2 separate regions of the Homo sapiens genome follow, and region 2 is linked to region 1. Evidence: promoter capture Hi-C in human tissues and cell types (Jung and others, 2019). All regions are on one chromosome and are shown on one strand. The core of a region is centred on a gene start or on the middle of the fragment in contact, and the rest is flanking DNA. Distances in the headings are between cores, read along the strand shown.

Region 1 (7,593 bases), core at 3,943-6,442:
TAATGTACAAAGTAATCAAATATTCTAAAATGTTTTTGAAAGAAGGTACTAGAAAAGAGGAAGGATCTCTAAAATCAGAGATTGTGTATAATAATTCTGAGGAAGTGCTGAGAGTCAGTACCTTAAGATATCGCATTTTTTCCATGTATCTGCAAAATAATTTATTATCCTAAAATTTGCATTAAAATATAAGTGGAAAACTATAAAACATAGTTTTCATATAGTTTTCAATGTAAAGACAACCCAAATGCCTGAAGTAGAAATTCAAACTGTTAATGGCATTTTGAAAAATCTTTTAGAAAAAAAAAATAAACTGTTTTTCATTGCCAAACATGGAATTAAGTAAAATTCAAAGTCACCAAGAGTTTTCTACAAAATTATGTCAACGTAAAATAAACATTTTCCCTTAACTACATTAGTATATTTAGTATATTTTCTTTATGTTCTAAGAAAGTACAAATTATAAAATCTTCAAAAGTTTGAATGCTAACTCATGTTTTTTTAATTAATAAAAATGGCATAAATCAAATAGACATCTCCAAATGATATTCATTAATTGTGTGTTATTTTTGCTGTTTTGTTAGCTTTCCTCTTCTCTGAGCTTCTTTCTAAACAAAGTTATCTGGGAAATTGTGTCCTCTTGTGGTGACTGGCAAAAACAACATGTTTTCTGCAGAAAGAACCAAACCAAACAATAGCAGCAGGACATAAGGCTTCAGGAAAACCCATTTGTGAAAAACGGAAATCCCTTCCAGTGAAGAAAGGTGAAAGTTATGAGTAATCAGAAAGAGAAATTGAATTGAAAAAACATAGAATGTAAATCATTCCATTTATATTTAAATTACTGGTCATCGGATGATTAAAAAGAAGACACATAATGCTATGTAGAAAGACTGAGACCATGATAATAGTTCCTATGAATAACTATTTATTTCTTGCATTCTTTCATCAGTTATTCCAGCAACTCTTTGATACAAGTGAAGTGAGTGTGTTTTCCAACAAGGTTAATGGGCAGCTAAGACACCAACTCTCCAGCCTGCACAACCCCTGAAAAAAAAAATGAAAAAAAAAAATGCTCTTCAAGACTCCATACTTTTCCATATTCTGATCCTGCACTTTCTACAGGTTAGACCTATGTCTCCTCATCCCATCCTTAAGCTGAGTTCAGAATGTCAGCTATTTTAAAGATTAACATTTATTTGAAAATTTCACTTGCGGTACTGTTCGCACCCTAATTTATTGTGTTTTTTACTTTTTCGTTTTATTTCTGGATTGAAAACTTCACATTTTATAACTTTAGTTTGTTTTTTTTACTTTTAAAGATATTCAGATAGAAAAATGTAGAATCAGTTGAGTTTATGAATCAAATCATCATTTAAAGAGAAAGAGAATGAGTTTTTATATAGGGAAAGGTGTTCAAACATCATTAAGGCTACCAGGGTCATGAAAGAAGAATAAGCTTTTACACAGTTATTGTGTTGACATACATGACTTTATATTCCACCTTACTAAAATTCTCTCATTTAAACAGCAGTCCCTCTGGAGTGTTCAAAGCAAGATGAAATCTAAGATATACAACCTCATCTGATATTCACTCAATTGCAGCCTTTCTAATTTTCACTCCCTTCCGTGCGAATGCTCCTGTGCACTATTTATGCAATTCAGATAAATTATTTCTCAGAACTCGGAGCCAACAAACAGGTGATAGGCCATCTAAGGTCTGAGGAGAAAGAAGAGTAGGAACAGATTGAGGTACTCACCTTTTATGCAAGCCCAAACTCCAGAATTTACCAGTTGGCTAACCATTCTATAGTGTGTGTTTCTTTTCCGTATCTAAAAGTATTTATAATTGGTTGTTGCTAAGAGAATGTCACAGCATATTCAAACTGCCAGGATACTTAATACTTATTGTATATGTTCAATGTGAGATTTCTAACTCTGTTACTTTTAACAGTATTTTTTGTTTCAATTTTTAACACAGCACACATTCCTCAGGCAGGATTGCAAACATGCCAAGTTTGCAGTTTGAAAACAAAGATCGTTTTGAACTATCCAAGTACAAAAGAAATTTTTTTTTTCAGTTAAATTTTTTTGGGGAGGACTTTACTTTAGAAGGAGGCAAAATGACTGAATTCCAGTTAATCTAGCATTCCCAAAGAAGGTAGTCCCCACTGACATACTTCCAGTTAGGCTAACTTCAGCCTCAAAAGAAAATTTCTAAGATTGTTTTCATGATCTCAAGATTGGGATTTTAGAAAGAAGCTTTCAAATTTAAACTAAACATTGCAGAAGTTGCAATTATTGTTGCATATATAAGAGAATCCAGAATTATACCTGACCTGTCAACAAGTAAAAAGGGAGCCATCCTTGCAAATGTGGAAAAGAAAATTGTTAGGTAAAATGTTAGATAAGAAAGAGCTGTATATGAGCAGACTGGACTCGTCAGCCAGGGCGTGTTGCAGTTTGCAAAGCAGGGAGTATCTAGCTCCAGCCATTTTTTGAGAGGTACCTCCTGGACTACTTTTGCTCCAAAAGTAACATTCAAGCCCCACTTAAGAACTCAAAAGTCGTCTCATCCTCCACTCCCCGGAACAGTTCAAGAGCCATTTCTTCTTAGAACTAGTCATCAATTGTGACTGTGGCTGAAAGAGTCCATGGGCAGGATGGTTCTGGTTAGGTGTTCATTTTGAATTCCCCTCTCAGTATTCTGGCATCAGAGCGTCGCCTGAGCCTTGCGGGGATCCCTGTACCCAATGGCCAGGAGCTCTTCATCAGCTAGAAGTTTAGTGCCGGGAAAAGGGCTGGGCTCACTTGTTTAAGAACCAGTCTTTGAGACTGATGACTTTGCAAGATGGACTGGCTAATGACCCCTGGCTGCTGCGCTGCTGTGGACTTGGTTTCTCCTCTAGCTTGTCCGCTCCCCTCCCCTTCCCAAATTCCCCTTGGTCAGGTAAGATTTCCTTTACACTTTACCCACACTTTCCTGTCTTACTTATCCGTGGCCACAAAGGAAAGAGTCCAATCATTCGATCTCTTTATTTATTTTTGAGAAAAGAGAAAAAAAGAACAAAACAAAAATAAGATTTATCTTTAAAAAAATAGCTGAAGTGGAAAAGGTTTCGAGATTTCTGCAGCCACGTTCTAAATAAGAATTGCAGAATACTGTAAATTCAGATTTACAAAAAGAACACTTGGTGGAGAGTGGGGCAGAATTTCTGCCGCATTCTCTAAGCGCTTCCAAGAGATAAAATCCTGTAGCGGAAGATGCAAACGCAAGGGTGCAGGGGTGACTGTTTTGAGAACTGCTAGAGTGCTACTGAAATTAAGTGGAGGTCAAGTCGAATCTGATTTTCAGACAATTTTACAGTAAGGCAGCGGCTCACTAAACAGGCCAGTTGACAAGCTGTAGTCACTTTCTGAGTATTTCTGTAAAAATGGTAAGGGATCAACTCTGCAATTTGTCCCTCCCATGAAAGCACAGTCTTGTTTACACCTCGCTGGAGAAATAACACTCGCCCTCACTTCTCCCAAAAAGCTGAACCCTTCAGTCGGCCCAAGCAGCTCCACACCCTGAGGTTTCCAAGACCAAAGCTGCGAGTCTCAGCAGGGAACAGCCACGTGGCCTGCCTGCGCCTCGCCTGGGCTCTTGCCTTCAGCTTGAGATATCTGCAGCCGCGAACCTTGCTCCAGCCCAGAAAGGGGCGCTTTGCTCAATTAATTGTTCCCGCCGGCGAGTCCGTACTGAGAAGCCCATGAGCGGACCTTATGTGCAGGGTACTCCAGCGCGGTGCACAAAACTCGTCGCCCCCAAACGCTGCCCCCACCCCAACACTGTGTACTGACTCCAGCTTTTTACTTTGCCATGTAAGGGATGGACCTGAAACGGTTATTTTACCTCAATTCATTTCAAAAAGGAAACAAGTATGGCATTGCAAAAGATGGGCTTCTTATCCAAGGCGACTTCCTTTCTGGTTCACCAACTTTGCTGCTTCCAGTTTGCCAGGATCTACATTAACACCCTCTTTGGGGCTCTTCGTTTTAACTTACAGACAGAAATGCTTAAAATGTTAGCGTATCCAAGCATTTGGAATTGGGGCTCACGAAGCCTAATTGTCCACTGGATGCCCTAGATAGTGGGGGCTGGGGCGGGGGGGGTCTCAGAGCGGGCAGCCCCTATGTCTAGGCGCTATCAAATTCCCACTTCACTCTCTTACAAGCTGGCCTTTCAAGGTCACAATGCGGAGCCTAATTTGGGGGTGGGGATGAAATGGCCACAGGGTCTCTCCCTTGGGTTGGCATTGCCAGCTGTTAGGGCCGCAGCAAAGGCGCTGCGCTGCCCCCCTCTGGCTCTGCTGCCTTTCCCATGGACTGGGTTTCCTTCCACCGAAGAGTGAACTTCTGCCTCTTTCGAGCACCTTCCGAGGCGTAGTCCTTTGGATGTTGGGGAGCGTCAGACTGGGTCGTTGTAGAGGGGAAAGGAGGGCCCAGAAGGGCGAGAGAGCAGGCCGGGACGCAAATCCTCAGCCCCCGCGGCGCGGCCACGTCTTCAGAAACGCCCAGGACCTCCGGGCTGGGCCGCCGCGGTTTGGCCTTTGGAACTCCAAGGGGTTCGTCTACCTGACCATTGGGTGGGCTCCGCGGTTGACACTTTTCTTGGCATGCCCCCCCACCCCGCGCCACACCACCCCCCCAGCCCCAGCAATCCCAAATCGGCCCCACGGACCTAGAGGGCTCTTGGGCGAGATGAGACATCACCCACTGTGTAGAAGCTGTTGCCATTGCTGCTGTCACAGCCACTCCGGATGGGGCTGCCACCGCGGCCAGGACAGTCTCCTCCGACCGCTTCCTGGGCTGCGCTAGGGTTCGGGGGCGCTGCCCGCACGCTCCGGCGGGGAAGGAAATCGCCCCGCGCCCGCCGGAGGAAGGCGACGGGGAGGGAAGGGGGAGGGCGGCTAGGAGGCGGGTGGAGGGGCCGGCCGCCCGGGCCAGGTCGTTTTTGAATGGTTTGGGAGGACGAATTGTTAGACCCCGAGGAAGGGAGGTGGGACGGGGGAGGGGGACTGGAAAGCGGAAACTTTCCTATAAAACTTCGAAAAGTCCCTCCTCCTCACGTCAGGCCAATGACACTGCTGCCCCCAAACTTTCCGCCTGCACGGAGGTATAAGAGCCTCCAAGTCTGCAGCTCTCGCCCAACTCCCAGACACCTCGCGGGCTCTGCAGCACCGGCACCGTTTCCAGGAGGCCTGGCGGGGTGTGCGTCCAGCCGTTGGGCGCTTTCTTTTTGGACCTCGGGGCCATCCACACCGTCCCCTCCCCCTCCCGCCTCCCTCCCCGCCTCCCCCGCGCGCCCTCCCCGCGGAGGTCCCTCCCGTCCGTCCTCCTGCTCTCTCCTCCGCGGGCCGCATCGCCCGGGCCGGCGCCGCGCGCGGGGGAAGCTGGCGGGCTGAGGCGCCCCGCTCTTCTCCTCTGCCCCGGGCCCGCGAGGCCACGCGTCGCCGCTCGAGAGATGATGCAGGACGTGTCCAGCTCGCCAGTCTCGCCGGCCGACGACAGCCTGAGCAACAGCGAGGAAGAGCCAGACCGGCAGCAGCCGCCGAGCGGCAAGCGCGGGGGACGCAAGCGGCGCAGCAGCAGGCGCAGCGCGGGCGGCGGCGCGGGGCCCGGCGGAGCCGCGGGTGGGGGCGTCGGAGGCGGCGACGAGCCGGGCAGCCCGGCCCAGGGCAAGCGCGGCAAGAAGTCTGCGGGCTGTGGCGGCGGCGGCGGCGCGGGCGGCGGCGGCGGCAGCAGCAGCGGCGGCGGGAGTCCGCAGTCTTACGAGGAGCTGCAGACGCAGCGGGTCATGGCCAACGTGCGGGAGCGCCAGCGCACCCAGTCGCTGAACGAGGCGTTCGCCGCGCTGCGGAAGATCATCCCCACGCTGCCCTCGGACAAGCTGAGCAAGATTCAGACCCTCAAGCTGGCGGCCAGGTACATCGACTTCCTCTACCAGGTCCTCCAGAGCGACGAGCTGGACTCCAAGATGGCAAGCTGCAGCTATGTGGCTCACGAGCGGCTCAGCTACGCCTTCTCGGTCTGGAGGATGGAGGGGGCCTGGTCCATGTCCGCGTCCCACTAGCAGGCGGAGCCCCCCACCCCCTCAGCAGGGCCGGAGACCTAGGTAAGGACCGCGCCGCTGCACCCCTTCGCCTCTCAGGTGGCAGACGGCAGGCCGGCCAGGCCGCGGTTCCCAGTCCACCTCGATTTCCTCCCCTCTCCCACTCTCCGCTCAGCCTTCCCACCTCACTTGGCACCGTTGCCTCGCGCCCCCAGCGTCCCCGGAAGGCCGGTCTGACCCCGCTAGGGAGAGCAGTCTCCAGGGGGATGCGCCCTGGTGAGGGGTGTGTGTGCGCGTGAGTGTGCGTGACAGGAGGGGAGACAGAGACACCCAGGGTCACGGGTAAGGACCGTTTTGTCAGCGCCACCCTTTCTTTCGGCTTTCAATTTTTGTTCTCCTTAAAACAAATGTTTTAAAACAAATTCCACCTCCTCCTCCTTTCCACCCACCCACTTCCTCTTGCCCTTGGGCTGAAATCCTTCCAGGTTGTTCAGCTTAATTTCTCAGTGGTGGTGATAAGAACAGTGCTCACTAGTCTTAGAAAACAGCCGCAGAGACCTAAACAATAACCGACTCCCCCCCCCCCCTCTGGGTTTTTGCAGATGTCATTGTTTCCAGAGAAGGAGAAAATGGACAGTCTAGAGACTCTGGAGCTGGATAACTAAAAATAAAAATATATGCCAAAGATTTTCTTGGAAATTAGAAGAGCAAAATCCAAATTCAAAGAAACAGGGCGTGGGGCGCACTTTTAAAAGAGAAAGCGAGACAGGCCCGTGGACAGTGATTCCCAGACGGGCAGCGGCACCATCCTCACACCTCTGCATTCTGATAGAAGTCTGAACAGTTGTTTGTGTTTTTTTTTTTTTTTTTTTTGACGAAGAATGTTTTTATTTTTATTTTTTTCATGCATGCATTCTCAAGAGGTCGTGCCAATCAGCCACTGAAAGGAAAGGCATCACTATGGACTTTCTCTATTTTAAAATGGTAACAATCAGAGGAACTATAAGAACACCTTTAGAAATAAAAATACTGGGATCAAACTGGCCTGCAAAACCATAGTCAGTTAATTCTTTTTTTCATCCTTCCTCTGAGGGGAAAAACAAAAAAAAACTTAAAATACAAAAAACAACATTCTATTTATTTATTGAGGACCCATGGTAAAATGCAAATAGATCCGGTGTCTAAATGCATTCATATTTTTATGATTGTTTTGTAAATATCTTTGTATATTTTTCTGCAATAAATAAATATAAAAAATTTAGAGAACCTTAGAGTTTGGTCTATATTTTTAAAACTAAAGATTAAGTTGGTGGTAAATACCTGCTTGTTTAATTCTAGAGGCACCCAGGAGGGAGGGGGCACTAATATAAACAAAGCAATGAAAAACTCAAATAAAGCAGCTACTGACAGGCACAAGCATGTTATTTTAAAAGACAGCTTTATTATTATTCCAGTTTGGTATTCAGAGGGCTTAGTAGCATCTCTTCATCTCTTACTGT
Region 2 (7,507 bases), core at 2,934-5,433, 180 kb before region 1:
ACTCTGGCTGATTGATTGATTGGGACTGATGCTGCCTTCTACAGCAGACGTTTATTTTAAAACATAAAGCTGTGACTTTTAAAATATTTTATAGGCCAGGCACGGTGGCTCACGCCTGTAATCCCAGCACTTTGGGAGGTTGAGGCGGGCGGTTCACGAGGTCAGGTGATCGAGACCATCCTGGCTAACACGGTGAAACCCCGTCTCTACTAAAAACACGAAAAATTAGCCAGGCGTCATGGTGGCCGGCGCCTGTAGTCCCAGCTACTCGGGAGGGTGAGGCAGGAGAATGGCGTGAACCCGGGAGGCAGAGCTTGCGGTGAGCCGAGATTGCTCCACTGCACTCCAGCCTGGGTGACAGAGCGAGACTCTGTCTCAAAAAAAAAAAATTTTTCTAAATTTTCTCTAAATTCAAATATTAGCATATTAGAAAAGTTTTAAAACAGCAAGGATTGGATAAAGGGTGAGTTCCTAATCCACATAGGTTAGGTTTTAGATGTGTGAACAGTTCAATAATTTACTATACGGACAACTAATTTCAAAAAATTATAATTATATTTTAATTCTATATCTTTAATAAAACAGAACCTCAGTAATTTAGCTCATGTTTGTGTGTTGCTTAAACAAAACCTGAAATCATATCATTTAGTTATCCCAAAGTCATAGATTCTTGGTAAACTTATGCTACTATTTGAAGTCATTGTTAAAAATACTCACTGCATCATAAAGGTAAGCTCTGTTTTCATATATTTAATTCTACTAAGGTTATTAAACTTGATGTTAGAAAATTTAAACATATATTGCCAAATATTAGCACTTCAGATATTTCTAGCAAAGTTTACAAAGCTAGAAGAAAAAACCCAGCAAATGAAAATACAAAAACATGAAAAATGAGCAAAACAACTGTATAATTTCACAAATGTTACAGAAAGCACCGACACTTTGTAGTTAATTATCTGATTCTCTATTCTGGATCACAGAAATTATAATGCAATAAAATATAAAGCAATAAAATAAAAGGGAGGAAATTTTCTAACATTTATTACAAGCAGATAGTTCAAATTTAATTCTATCGTTAATAAGTACATACCTTGGACAAGCTAACACCTCTGAATTTCCAGTTTCTTCATCTGAAAAATGGTGCAATAATTCTTATCTGTAATTATAATGAGAATTAAGTGTGACAATATATATGAAGTCTCTAGAACAGTAAGCAGATGCGTATGAGTCATTTACTTATTTTCTTTACCAGCTCCATGCAATTCTGAATGACGAATGACCTAGAACTGGCATCAACTTTTACTGCTCTGTCTTCCCTTTCAGATATTTTTTATTCACTTGCCTGATCTCATTGTTCAACTCTAGAAGCATGAATATCATTTCTAAGTGGGAAGAACATGGCCTCTGTTTCCAAGTTATCTATCAACTGCATACATTGACTTCCTTGCTTAATGTTTGGCTTCTTCGCCCACTCTGTCTGGGTTCCTGACCAGCTCTGGGTTCCTCAGGCCTCAGTGCTTACCTTTCCTGTTACCTCGAACTCTATGTATATGTATGGATGTTGTTTGTTTGTTTGTCTTCCCTTCAGTGTGATAATGCATCTGCCTACAGCCTCTGCTGAATCCCTTGGAACTAGAATCCAACTCGACTTTTATCCTTACAGTGCTATCAGTTTTTCTAATCGTCACAGCAACATACCACTTTTTTAAGTGATAAATGTCCCAGAAGCTGGGGCCTCATCATCCCCAGGACAGCTAAGTGAAGTCTATATCCAAGTGAGTGAAAAATGCTAGCGTCTAAGAAGCTCTATACAATCAATTCAATATAATTTAGAGCTTGTTTCTCTCTTATCTCCCATGGCATGGCTGTAGGGATTAACAGGAGAAATGAGAGTGATCAGAGTTTGTAGATATCCAGGAGCTTATCTCTTAGTGGAATCATCATTGTGATTTCTATCCTGCTTGAAAAATCCAGTCACTAACGTATTGGTAACATCGCTTTAATGGCTAGAAATAGGTAAAAGAATCCAAACCAGATCACAGTGAATATCAGATTCACCTAGGGAGATTGTATAAGATGCTTCTGCCTGGTCCCTACCCAAGCAATTAAATCAGAATCAGTTGGGATATGATGTCCTGAAAGAAGTCGAACACACACATTTGCTTCCTGGGACTTCTGTGCATGACCACCTCTCTGGCTTCTAACTGAGCAGGCTAGGGTTTCAGGTTTGTAGTATATTAATAGATTTAAAAGTTCCCGAGCAATACAATTGTATTTGCACATTTTCTCAGCTGGGAGGAAAATTTCATGGCAATGGCTGTGGCAGATACATGGAAAACACACAAAGTAAAACTTTACAAGTTTCATTGACTTTTATTTCCAGAAAACATGACCCAAGAAAATGCATTTTGGAAGATTAATTTTTATCTATAGTTTGTTGTCTTTGATGATAAAACCTTATCTGAGAATTGCTGTGAAACTTTTATGAGTTCCTCTGACCATTTTGAAACATCAGTAAAGTAGAAAATGAAACCACTTATTTACCAGAGTGATAAAGCATACAAGATTTACATGTAGTCTCTACACAGTTTTTCTTTAAACAATCTGGTTTCTTTAAGGCGCAATGTAAGGGGCTGATATCAGTTCATGTTGGTTGAGTTGTGTTTACCATGAGATTTAGTTTCTTTCTTAAGTACTTTAAACTTAGTAGGTTCAAGGATGCTCAGTGAGTCCAGACACTCAATAAATGCTGTTTGATGATGATAATGCTGAAGTTGCAACATGAGTGTTCTTGTATTCACTCACACTGAATGTCTTACTAAGGTTCAGACTGGCCTGGCGCGGTAGCTCATGCCTGTAATCCCAGGACTTTGGGAGGCTGAGGCAGGTGGATCACGAGGTCAGGAGATCAAGACCATCCTGGCCAACATGGTGAAACCCTGTCTCTACTAAAAGTACAAAAATTAGCCACGTATGGTGGTGCAAGCCTGTAGTACAGCTACTCGGGAGGCTGCGGCAGCAGAATTGCTTGAACCCGGGAGGTGGAGGCTGCAGTGAGCTGACATCTAGCCACTGCACTGCAGCCTGGGTGACAGAGCAAGACTCCATCTCAAAAAAATAAAAATAAATAAATAAATAAATAAATAAATAAAGTTCAGACTTTTTTCTTAAGGTTATACAATGTCATTGTTTCTTAAGGTTATATAATGTCAATGTATTAGTCCACTGCTTCCATGTCTTCATTTTCTTAGTGCAGAATCCAAAAACACAAGAAAGGAAATAATGGCTGTGTTTTCTTAAAACAAGCTGGGATCTTCTATCCATAAGACAGGTAAAACAGAAAAACTCCAACATGCTGTTTCGATGCTGTTATTTTTCTCTAGTACCTCCACCTTTTTTTTTTTTTTTTTTTTTTTTGCCTCCCTTCCCTGATCTTCCTAAATACTGCTCTTCAGGCAGTGTTCCCACAGGTAATGCTGTGAAGTAGGGGTTCAGGGTCAGGGGCCAGTGGGCTCGCTTTCATGTATGTAGCTCTAACTGTAACCCAATGCATCTCTTTCCCCTGAGCAAAGCATTTGTCTTCTCAGCATGAATTGCTACATGCAGAGCAGGATAGGATCCTGCAGACTGTTTGAGGATCAACATTTGGAGACTTAAGACTCACACAAGGTTTAATTGTATTACAGTTGATGAGAAAATAAATATTGAACCATTGCTAGCACCTCATCATGCTTTGAAAATTTAAAATTCCTGATTGGCCTAAGTATCAAGAAGTTGGTCTCTAACATCTGACTCGACTAGAGACTGCATGCTGAAAGAGTCATGCATAGCTAGTTGTTGTAGTGGCTTCTCTATAAAACAAAGAATAGCCAAAAACACTACGCAGACCCCTTCCAATCAAAGAGACTGAACTTTAAAAGCTAACTTTACTGACTGATTCTGAAGTTTTTATTTTCTTTGCCAGACAGGTTCAAAAAGAATGTCTGTTTTCATTTCATCAAGCTTAATCCATACATAACATCCTTTCCCACTATTTACTAGACTGCAGCTATCAAATGAAGATATGATGTCTGTGTTTGGGTTAGTTACTTTAAATTCTAATGACCATGATGTAATCACTGTAATCAAGAAAAGCTTGTCTGTCTTTAGATTTAGGTCCTTTGCCATTGGCCTGGCACACTTTTGAGCCTTTTCATTAAGCTAACCACAATTTTGCCTAATTTGTAATTATCTGAGCTTGCTTTACACAATCTGTGGTCCTAAATTAAAGCTTATTCCATTGTGTGTGTGTGTGTGTGTGTTTTGTGGTAATTGTTGTTCTGGCAAAACCGTTAACAAATATTTAGATAAGAAAGCTTTATCAGCAGTGTATTTTTTTACTCGACTTATGTGTTTGTGCATTTGAGTGTTTCCTTCTAATTATGCATTTTTTGGTAATTATATCTAAAGTGCAGATTCTTCTTTGCTCAAGCAAATGTTTAGAGAAACTTTAAAGTTTAAAAACATTGAAGTTGAAAAAAGATGAAAATTGCAATGAGTATACACGTGAATATAAAATGTTCTTTCAATCTTTATTTCTTTGTGTTTTTTAAACAATAAAGGTTTATATGAATAAAATAGAACCCATACACATATTCCTAATATGGGGAAAGTTAAACTATTGTAATGAAAACCCCACTATGTTCCCATTCTACACACCAGCTTTTAAGAATTACAGAATTGGCCGGGCGTGGTGGTTCACACCTGTGATCCCAGCACTTTGGGTGGCCGAGGCAGGTGGATCACCTGAAGTTGGGAGTTTGAGACCAGCCTGACCAACATGGAGAAATCCCATCTCTACTAAAAATACAAAATTAGCCAGGTATGGAGGCGCATACCTGTAATCCCAGCTACTCAGGAGGTTGAGGCCGGAGAGTTGCCTGAACCCGGGAGGCAGAGGTTGCAGTGAGCCGAGATCATCCATTCCACTCCAGCCTGGTCAACAAGGGTGAAACTCAATCTCAAAAAAAAGAAATTATTACAGAATTATCCTTTCGGTCGGTTGTTCACTAAAAAGGAGCCCTAAGAACCCCTCCACTCTTTTTACTAAGGAAAAATACTTGCTTATAAATTTGGAAAGCACAGATCATTAAATAAATTATTTTGGTAAAAATATCCCATTCTATCTGATAAAGTTTTGCTACTCAAGCACACTTAAATCCCATTTCATCAGAGATACCCTAGATAACATTAGCATTTAGCTACATTCCTGACATCCCTTAATGTATGAAAATCTACTGAATTTGAATGCCTGCGTATTTAATTTACACATCTGGGATAAATATTTTTCATCTTTTAGGTTGCAAGGTGAGTAGAACAAATGGGGAAAGGGAGAATGATTTAGTTGCTAAGTAGCAGACTGCCAAGGAACAGAGATTATTAAACCAAGGCCTGATAAGCTTTCAGTAGTGACCTGGGAAAGCTATGGAAAGGGAGGGAGCATTGTCGCCTCTCTCTGCCTCTTTTCTACTATTTTAAAGCTGGGAATAATGGTCTATTCAAATAGGAACGTGTATAATTTTTGCTATGCCATATGTAGGTATGACTGTGGAAGATTGTAAATCTTCCAGTTCCTAGTGATGCCTTACTCCTTTGCCTCAGCAATGGCAGAAGTATATAGATGGATGGTTAGCATTAACCCCACAGGATGCCATACAGCAAGGTTAATTAATTAACCTACATTAATTAATCACCGAGTTGGTTGAGATAAATGAATTGCCATATATATTCTAGTTCAATAATCTTTAGCTATACGCTATTTTATTTTGACCAACTAAAATAATTCATGAAAATCAATAAAAAGAAAGAGGCAGCAGCATTAATTCAGTTTAAGCAAAACTCCATTTAGACCTTATTTATTATATTAAATAATCATTTAAATGCCTGATGTCAATATGACCAATAGAGGAACTAATTTTAACATGATAATAATGACTGACTCCCAGGAATATTAGGGAAACAGCAATTTACTTAGGTGGGAATGCTGAAAATTGAAATAAAATCAATCAAATATGATTAATATAATAGGGTGTTTAGGTTAATTGGTGTGATGCATGTTTATTATAAAAAGTTGTTGCTGAATGCATGCCTGTTAACCTTTAACCCTAGAGCCTTATTTAACAGTTAACTTACTTACCAGCAGGATATCTTCAGGATTTCTCTGCTAGGTCTAAGCATGGAGAGGCAAGTCCTGACAGTGACAGAAATGAGAAAAAAACAATTTCTCTTGTTTCCTAGAACATATTTTTTCATGGCAATAAATTCTTCTGGGGAAATTCTAATATAGTGAGAAAAATACCGTGTTCTTACTTAGATGAACTAATAGAAAACAACTATAAATGTTTTCATAGTATTAAGTTTAAAATTGCAAAACTTTGAAGAACCACTGACCAAGAAATTGGAAGAAACATGAACTACAGATGCATGCTTTTAATCTTCATTAACTTGTAGTAAATGTGCATTATGTATTCTTTATGTGCATATGTATACATGAAATTGAGATGTACATTGTGTTCTTAGATTTTTAAAATTTAAATGCATATATTTTTAACATTGAGATTTTAGTGAGACCTTGAAATAAAGCTGCTCTTCCATGACAAAAACCAGGATTTAGAGTCTCTGCTTAAAGGAAATGCAGATGATGTGGGCAACTCATGAAGGTTTTCATGGTGCCATTGGTTATACTGCCTCATTACACCATTCTGTCACTCTCGTGATCTGTTATCCAATGCACTATATGTTTAATTTAATGTTTATGTGTTATATCCCCAAAATATTGTAATCTCCTCATGGGAACGGATTCCAGCAATGTCCAACACAATGGCTCCCACACAGTGGCATTTAAGAAAGTGTCTGTTGTCTTGCTTTGACTTAACTCTTTTATTTGGAAGGTTTGATTAGACTAAAAAGAGGCAGGGGGACCTCAAACATCATAAGGAAAGAAAATAATGCGATCAGGCAAACACAAATGAAGAGTTCTCTGCTGTGTTTGAAGAGTAGAGAACTTATAGAGAGAGACAGAGAGACGAAGCTAAAAATATAGGTTCAGTGGGCATTGTCAGGGGCTGGGTATAGGATTAAAGAAGAAATTTATCCTTTGGATATACAAGTCACATATCCAACGTCAAAGAATGCCAGGGAGTTAGAGGTATAGGTGAAGCATGCCTGGTAGAGGCAATAATAGGAACAGTGGCAAAGTGAAACACTATCACTCAGAGGAAATGGACAGCCAATACTCAGCTCTAGCAATCAGTGATGTTTAGAAATGCAGGCACAGTGACGCCAGACCTCCAGATACCATCAACAGTAACCAGAAATCCATGATTTTGTAAAATATTCTAATTCTTTTTTGTGAAATTTGTTGGTATGAATCTTTTTGTCATATTTTTATGGCATTAAGTTTGAACATTTTTATTGTAAATTGACAATTTATAATTGTATATATTTATGGGGTACAAAGTGATGTTAT

What was found. The method cuts DNA at HindIII sites, captures the fragments that hold promoters and counts their contacts. A contact is called where the count stands out against the background at its distance.
Region 2: a contact is called between a fragment that was not itself captured here and the fragment with the promoter of TWIST1 in region 1, in 1 of the 25 tissues and cell types used here (mesendoderm cells).

What each region holds. Positions count from the first base shown.
Region 1 is chr7:19,115,235-19,122,827 of GRCh38, reverse strand. TWIST1 (twist family bHLH transcription factor 1) reads left to right here and starts at 5,192. Exons shown (of 2, transcript NM_000474.4): 1 at 5,192-6,157; 2 at 6,697-7,360. The coding sequence starts at 5,507. The coding sequence ends at 6,115. RefSeq lists enhancers at 3,182-4,045, 5,119-5,902, 5,926-6,185. The HindIII fragment of the contact is 7,370 bases long and covers 1,862-7,593 here.
Region 2 is chr7:19,298,050-19,305,556 of GRCh38, reverse strand. It overlaps LOC107986773 (a long non-coding RNA gene), which reads right to left and starts at 5,833. Exons shown (of 3, transcript XR_001745109.2): 1 at 4,878-5,833; 2 at 1,091-1,156. The HindIII fragment of the contact is 4,820 bases long and covers 1,774-6,593 here.